2 separate regions of the Homo sapiens genome follow, and region 1 is linked to region 2. The links are contacts of gene promoters, found by promoter capture Hi-C in blood cells and fetal thymus (Javierre and others, 2016). All regions are on one chromosome and are shown on one strand. The core of a region is centred on a gene start or on the middle of the fragment in contact, and the rest is flanking DNA. Distances in the headings are between cores, read along the strand shown. Region 1 overlaps TTI1 (TELO2 interacting protein 1). Region 2 holds the start of DHX35 (DEAH-box helicase 35).

Region 1 (3,806 bases), core at 258-2,757, 930 kb after region 2:
CATTGTTGGCATTTTGGAGCAACAGCAGAGAGGACAATAAAGCTGGAGTGATATGAACTAGAAGGGTGGCTGGAAATTAGTTCAGAAAAGTACGAAGGGACTGCATCACATGGTGACTTGTAGGCAATAGTATAGACTTTAGATGTTACTCTGAATGAAATGAAGTCCACTGGGCAGTTTTGCACAAAGAAGGAGCATTGTGGCTGTTAGGTAGAAAATAAGACAGTAAGAGTGCAAAGGTAGAAGCAGGAAGGACCAGTTTGGCAGCTGTTGTAGTAACCCAGGTGAAAGGATAACTCAAACCAGGGTGGTATCTGTGGAAGTGGTAAGAAAGGGACAGTTCTGGGGATATTTTAGAGGAAGAGGTAACAGGATCCGCTGATAGATTGGATATGGGGTGTGAAAGACATATGAGAGTTGAGATAGCTCCAAGGGTTTTGGCCTAAGCAACTATAAGAATAGCGCTTCCATTTACTGAATTACAGAAAAGAGTGGGTTTGGAGAGTAAGAGCAAGCATTTGTATTTGGACATGTCCATTTGGAAATGCCTATCTGAGTATAGATGTCTAAGGGGCAGTTGGGTTTATGGGTCTGGAATTCAAGGAAGAGCTATCTGGGTTAGAGATAAAAATGTGAGAGTCATAACGGAATAAGGTGTAAAAAGAGACTGAGTCCTAGGATTCTTCAACATATAGAGGTCTGAAAGGTGAGGATGATATGATTATGTGATTTTTCTTCTTAAGCTTGTTAATAGCTTGTTAGTATTAACAACTCTAATTGATTTTCAAATATTGAGCCAGTCTTGCATCTCTGAAATATACCCCACTTTATCATGGTGTGTGTGTGTGTGTGTGTGTGTGTGTGTGTGTTTTACATACTGCTGAATTTCCTAATATTTTCTTTAGGATTTTTGCATCTATACTCATGAGAGAAATTGGTCTATAGATTTTTTTAATTTTTGTATTGCCTTTGGTTTGGTATCAGGATAATACTGGCTTTATAAAATGGATTGGAAAGTGTTTCTTCTTTTTCTAGAAGAGTATGTGCAGAATTGGTGTTAATTCTTCATTAAATGTTTGGCGGAATTCTCCAATGAAACCATCTTGGTTTGGAGATTCCCTCCACTCCCTGCTTCCCTCCCTCCCTCCTTCCTCCTTCCTCCCTCCTCCCTCCCTCCCTTCCTTCCCTTCTTCCTTTTTTTTCTGGAGTTTTTAAGTGACAAATTCAGTTTATTTAAAAGTTATAAAGCTGTTAAAATAATCTCTTTCCTATTGTGGTTGTGTTTTTTGAGGAATTAACCACTTCATCAAAGTTGTCAAATTTATATGGGTAAAGCTATTTGTGGTATTCCCTGTCTTTGTTTTCTGTTGCTTATAACAGAATACCTGAAACTGGGTAATTTATAAAGAAAAAGGATGTATTTCTTACAGTTATGGAGGCTGAGAAATCCAAGGTCACAGGGCCACATCAGGTAAAAAACTTTCTTGCTGGTGGGGACTCTGCAGAGTCCCAAGGCAGTGCAGGATATCACAGGGCCAGGGGGCTGAGTGTGCTAGCTGAGGTCTGTTTTGCTCTTATAAAGCCACCAGTTCCCATGATAACCCATTAATCCATTTATGAGGGCTTATAAAGACTCCACTTCTCAATACATTGGGAATTAAATTTCAACATGAGTTTTGGAAGGGACGGATATTCAAACCATAGCATTCCCATATTACCCTTTGATGTCTGCAGGGTCTGTAGTACTGTCCCGTTTCATTACTGATATTGGAAATTTCCAGTATCAGTGTCTCGTCTCTTCTCTCTCCTCTCTCTCTCTCTCTCTCTCTTGCTCACTCACTCCCTTGTCAATCTTGCTAGAAGTTTGTCAATTTTATTGACCTTTTCAAAGAACCAGTTATTTATTTCATTGACTTTCTGTGTTTTCTGTTTTCAGTTTTGTCAGTTTCTGCTCCTTATTATTTCTTCTGCTTGCTTTATTTTGCTCTACTTTGTCTAGGTTCTTGTGGTAGGAGTTTACCTTTTTCGTTTGAGACTTTTCCCCTTTTCTAATATATGACTTAGTACTATTAATTTACATCTCAGCATGGCTATAGCTGTATCCACAGATTTTGGTGTGTCATATTTTCATTTTCATTCATTTCCCTATTTTTTTTCTAATTTCCCTTAAGGTTTCCTCTCTGTTCCGTGGATTATTTAGAAACATGTTGTTTAGTTTCCAAGTATTTGGAGATTTTCCTGTTATCTCTGTGTTAGTGATTTCAAGCTTGATTTCATTGTGGCTGGGGAATGTCACTCTGTATGATTTCAGTTCTTTTAAATTTGTTGAGGTTTGTTTTATGGCAGGATAATCATCTGTCTTATGTTCTATGAGCACTTGAAAAGAATGTGGGCTAGGCACTGTAGCTCATGCCTGTAATCTTAACACTTTGGGAGGTCAAGGCAGGAGGATCACTTGAGCCTAGGAGTTCAAGAACAGCCTGGGCAACATGGCGAAACTCGGTCTTTAAAAAATACAAAAATTAGCTGGGCATAGTGGCATGCACCTGGAGTCCCAGCCACTCAGAACGCTGAGGTGGGAGGATTGCTTGAGCTCAGGAAATTGAGGCTGCAGTGAGCCATCATCGAGCCACTGCACTGCAGCCTGAGCAATAGAGTGAGATCCTGTCTAAAAAAACAAATAACAACAACAAAAGAATGTGTAGTCTGCTATTGTAGGATGGAGTGTTCTATAAATGTCATAGGTCCTGTTGGTTGATGGTGGTGGTTTTTCTATATCCTTGTGGATTTTTGGTCTAGTTATCCTATCCATTGTTGAGAGAGGAATATTGAAGTCACCACCATCTATTGTGAATTTGTTTCTCCTTTTAGTTTTATCCATTTTTGTTTCACACATTTTACAGCATATACATTTTAAGATTGCAGTATGTTCTTAGTAGATATACCTGTTATTCATTGTACTCTGTCTCTGGTAATTTTTTTTCTTTTGCTCTGAAGTCTACTTTATCTGGTGCTAATATAGCTACTTCTACTTTCCTTTGATTAATGCTTACATGATAATATCTTTTTCCATCCTTTGATTTTCAATCAGCCTCTATAATTCTGCATAGTGAGTTTCTTATAGACAGCGTGTAGTTAGATCATGTTTTTAAATCCACTCCGCCAATCTCAATCTTTTAATTGATGTATTTAGACCTTTTATGCTTAATACAATTATAGTTGACCCTCTATATTCATGGGTTCCGTCTCTGTAGATTCAGTCAACTGTGGATTGAAAATACAGTAGACCCTTGAACAACACAGATTTGAACTGCGGCCATCTATTTATATGCAGATTTTCTTTCCCTTCTGCCAACCCACCTCCTCCTCAGCCTACTCAAGGTGAAGACAAAGATGAAGACAGACCTGTGTAATGATCTACTTCCACTTAATGAATAGTAATTGTGATTTTCTTTTCTTTCTTTCTTTTTTTTTGAGATGGAGCCTCGCTCTGTCACCCAGGCTAGAGTTCAATGGTGCGATCTTGGCTCACTGCAACCTCCGCCTCCCGGGTTCAAGTGATTCTCCCACCTCAGCCTCCTGAGTAGCTGGGATTACAGGCACCTGCCATCATGCCTGGCTAATTTTTGTATTTTTGTAGAGACGGGGTTTCACCATGTTGGCCAGCCTGGTCTTGAACTCCTGACGTCGGGTGATCCACCCACCTCAGCCTCCCAAAGTGCTGGGATGCAGGCGTGAGCCACTGGGCCCAGCCTGTGATTTTCTTAATAACGTTTTCTTTTCTGTAGCTTGTTTTATTGTAAGAA
Region 2 (4,149 bases), core at 230-2,729:
TTCAATTAAGAGAGAGACAGTAACTTGAGAGCAGAGCCCTGAGCATCTGTATTTGTCTCCTGAACACAGGATTAGGTTTTCAATAAGTGTACCCTCAATGGATGAACTAAATAATGAAATAGAACTCTTAAGAGTAATTCCACGTTCTTTAACCAAAATAGTACCCTGGTCTGATTTCAAACAATTAATTCAGCTCTTTATTATACCTAACACTTTCACCTGTTACTAAAAGCGTGAATAAATTAAAAGTATTCATTACTTAGTAAGTTCCTAGTTTTGGATGCAAATAAAACTCAGGATGGATAATTGGCTGATGACTTGAAATGCTGAACCATAAAACTGTCAAGTGACAGACTACAAATTTTTAAAAAGCATTAAACATATCTCTTGCTTGGGTTTATCTCTCACATCACTTATATGCATGGTCAGAATTTCAGAGAACCACTGAAAAATTAAAAGCTTTGCTTATATTACATTCTTGGTGTCATTTCATTTTTGCTGCAATATACTTTGCACATCCAGACCTGCAGGGGTGCAGGTGGTAGAAAAAAATCAAGCTGGTAGCTGTAATTTAAAAACTTTTGTTTTTTACAAGAAACTGTTTGCAGAGAGGAAGTAATGCATCTAGTACGGTCTGGCATATGCACATTCAGTAAAAACCTGATTAATGAGTAAATATCAAGACAAAACAAGTAAAGCATTTTGTGATTGTGATTCGTGTTAGTCTGTAAGAGAGGAAGTGGCTGGCAGCCAATATGAAGGACTGTTCCCTTTTCTAGTAGACATTCGGAGTGGACAACAATTATCCTAAAAGAAAATAACACACTTTCCCTTTTTTTGAGCATTTATTCTAAGTCTGACAACGCGTTCTGCTTGTCATTTAAGCCCACAGCATAGAAGCTATTGTTCTGCCCACTTTACAGGTAAAGAAGTCATGGCTCAGAGGCATTAAGTGACTCGCCCAAGGTCACCCTACTACAAGGCAGAGACGAAAATTCGAACCCGGACAGTCTGACTCCATAACTTGGGCTTGCAAGCCTCCAGCAGCGAGCAGCATTGTCTGTCGGGCCACAGCGCAACCCCAGGGCGCTAACGAGACACGAGAGGGAGCTTTAGGATTCCCCATCTCGCGGGGTGGGCAGGACAAGCATCAGTAACGAGGAAGACGAGGCCTGAGGAGGCTGGACCACTTTAACAAGGTCACAAAGAGTTTCTGCTCACGCTAGGGGAGCACCCCCAAATCCCTCGGGACCACTGGGGAGCCTGAGCCAGAGCTCCCCCCGCACAGAGGCGGCAGCGCCCAGCTCGCCGAGGTCAGGCCTGCGAGCAGGTCTGCTGGCCCCAGGGCGCCGGCCGCGGCGCCAAGACCGAAGTCAGGCCGCCGCATCTGCCCAGCGTTCCACCAAGGGCCTTACCGGGTCGCCAGAACTTCACCGGTCCCACGGGCGCAGCCATGTTGGGGTAAAAGGTCACGAGGCTAGCTCCACCCCACCGTCGCGCGCTAGGCCCCCAGGGCCCGGAGGGCGTGGCCCCCGAAGAGCCGCTGCCCAGACGGATCGCGCCGTGTGACGGCCACGCCCCCACAGCTACCGCCCCCGTCTGAGCCACGTGACCCACTTCCAGGCTCCGGCGAGCGCACCGGCCCCGCCCCCGAGCCCACGTGACCCTGCTCAGCCATTTTGGAGAAAAGGGCGCGCTCCTCCGCCTACCTCTTGAGCGTGGAGGGTAGATGCTTCAGGTGACCTTTTACGAGCGTGGCGTGTCCTGGATGGCGGCCGCACACTTAGGAAGAACGGGCTTTGGGAGAGGACCGCTGGCCCGAGAGTGGAACCTTGCACGCACTGGGCGTTGAAGCAGTGCTTTCTGGATTAAATACGAAATACTGATGTCACAAGCTACCTCAACTTGTCGACTTCTGTTTTATTCTCAATTTCAAATTGAAGGGTAATAATAGGAACTACCTCGTGGGTTGTATTTGTCAGTAAATATTGCGCGCCTGCTGTGGGCCCAGGTAGTGCGGCACAGTGCCCCAAATAAAACAATGCGAAATGATATGGAAGTCTTCAGGGACCTTGAGGGCAAAACGGAAAAACGGACTGGGGGTGGGGTGGAGCGAATGGGTTGGCAGAAGAGACTGAAAATGGGTAGATCAATTAAGGTAGTCCACCAACTCAGTGCTTCCTCCAATTTGATACCCTTGAGTCAAATGCTTGTTAAAAACACAGATTCTAGGCCTTGATCCAATTCTGAATCGATGTCCTGGAGCATGGCTTGGGAACCTGCATTTTGAGAAGCTCCTGAATTCTTCAGATTAACAAATTTGGGAAAGATTACACTAATCCATCAGACGAAAGGTGAGGTCAAAGAAAAAGAAATTACAGTAATCCAAAGGAGCGCTAAGAAGGGGTGATGAGCTCAAGTGGAGGAAATAACTTTCTAGGTAGGCAACTAATTGGAAGGAAGTGAGAGGCTTCAGAATCTATGCATTTTTAAAGCTGTGAAGAAAATTCTGAATTCTTTGAAAGAAGTGGCATCATTATGGCAAGAGCAGGGGCTTTTGTGGACAACCAGTCCAGACTTGGAATCGTAACTTTGCCATTTCCTAGCTCCTAGCTGTCATTTAATTTTAGTTGTAAAATGAGGTTTAAAGAGGTATTACATGAGATAACATGTAAAGTACCTAACAGTGCAAAACATAGCAGGCACTGAATCAATGTTAGCTCTCATTACCTCAACTCAGAGCAAATCCACCAGGGGGAAAAAAATCTGAATTTACCTGCATAGGTTCATGTAAGAATCTTCTTTGATTTATTTTTATAGTAATTAATGTAGGGACTCAATATCTGTTAGTCCCTCGGCCTAGAATTCTCCATCCATCCTTTAAATTATCTTTATCCCTTAAAGGGCTAGCTCTAAATTATCTATCCAACTTAAACATTCCCCCTTGTAGTCTAGGAACTGTATTCTCACTTTTGTGAGAAAAGTGACCTGTAGTTTAGTTGCCTGTAGTTTACCTGCCGCCACTATTACACAGGGAACTTACTGAGGACGAGGACCATGTCACATTCACATTCGTGGCCCAGTAACAAGTGCCTATTGAGTGTAGATAAACATCATGCTTTAGGCTTAGTTTTAGTTGATCTGTAGTTTACCTGCCGCCACTATTACACAGGGAACTTACTGAGGACGAGGACCATGTCACATTCACATTCGTAGCCCAGTAACAAGTGCCTATTGAGTGTAGATAAACATCATGCTTTAGGCTTAGTTTTAGTTGATCTGTAGTTTACCTGCCGCCACTATTACACAGGGAACTTACTGAAGACAAGGACCATGTCAGCATTCACATTCACATTCACATTCGTAGCCCAATAACAGTGCCTATTGAGTAATGTATAGATAAACATCATGCTTTAGGCTTAGTTTTAGTTGATCTGTGGTTTACCTGCCGCCACTATTACACAGGGAACTTACTGAGGACGAGGACCATGGCACATTCACATTCGTAGCCCAGTAGCAGTGCCTATTGAGTAATATACAGATAAACATCATGCTTTAGGCTTAGTTTTAGTTCTTCATGACATTGATTTTTCCTTGTTTTATTTTTGTCTTATTTTACTAACAGCCCAAATACGGAAACCAAGGTTTATACATGAATATAAGGCAAAATGAAATAAATGCCACTTTTAAGATTATTTCATGGCCTGGCACGGTGGCTCACACCTGTAATCCCAGCACTTTGGGAGACTGAGGCAGGCAGATCAACTGAGGTAAGAGTTCGAGACCAGCCTGGCCAACATGGCGAAATTCTGTCTCTACTAAAAATACAAAAAAATTAGCCGGGTGTGGTAGTAGTCACCTGTAATCCCAGCCAGTTGGGAAGGTGAGGCAGGAGAATCCCTTGAACCCGGAAGGCAGAGGTTGCAATGAGCAGAGATCCGCCACTGCACTCCAGCCTGGGCGACAGAGTGAGACTCTATCTCAAAAAATAGAAAAAAAAATAAATAAAATAACTTATCTATTTTATCTATTACTCATATAATGAAACCTTCCTGTTTATGAAGAGACAGTAAATCGGCCATGCCTGTATTATTGGATCATAATCTTTTTTCTTTTTTAGATGGAGTCTTGCTCTGTCGCCCAGGCTGG

Evidence for each region. Contacts are between HindIII fragments. The CHiCAGO score rates a contact against its expected background, and 5 or more counts as called.
Region 1: a fragment that was not itself captured here is called in contact with the fragment with the promoter of DHX35 in region 2 in 4 of 17 cell types (neutrophils, total CD8 T cells, total CD4 T cells and 1 more); the score reaches 6.8 in neutrophils.

What each region holds. Positions count from the first base shown.
Region 1 is chr20:38,027,592-38,031,397 of GRCh38, reverse strand. All of the region lies in intron 1 of TTI1 (TELO2 interacting protein 1), which reads left to right. Among named protein-coding and RNA genes, the nearest start is that of TTI1, 4.0 kb to the left of the region's middle. The HindIII fragment of the contact is 1,523 bases long and covers 746-2,268 here.
Region 2 is chr20:38,959,674-38,963,822 of GRCh38, reverse strand. DHX35 (DEAH-box helicase 35) reads right to left here and starts at 1,479. Exons shown (of 22, transcript NM_021931.4): 1 at 1,416-1,479. The coding sequence starts at 1,455. RefSeq lists an enhancer at 1,145-1,454 and a silencer at 1,495-1,614. The HindIII fragment of the contact is 4,420 bases long and covers 462-4,149 here.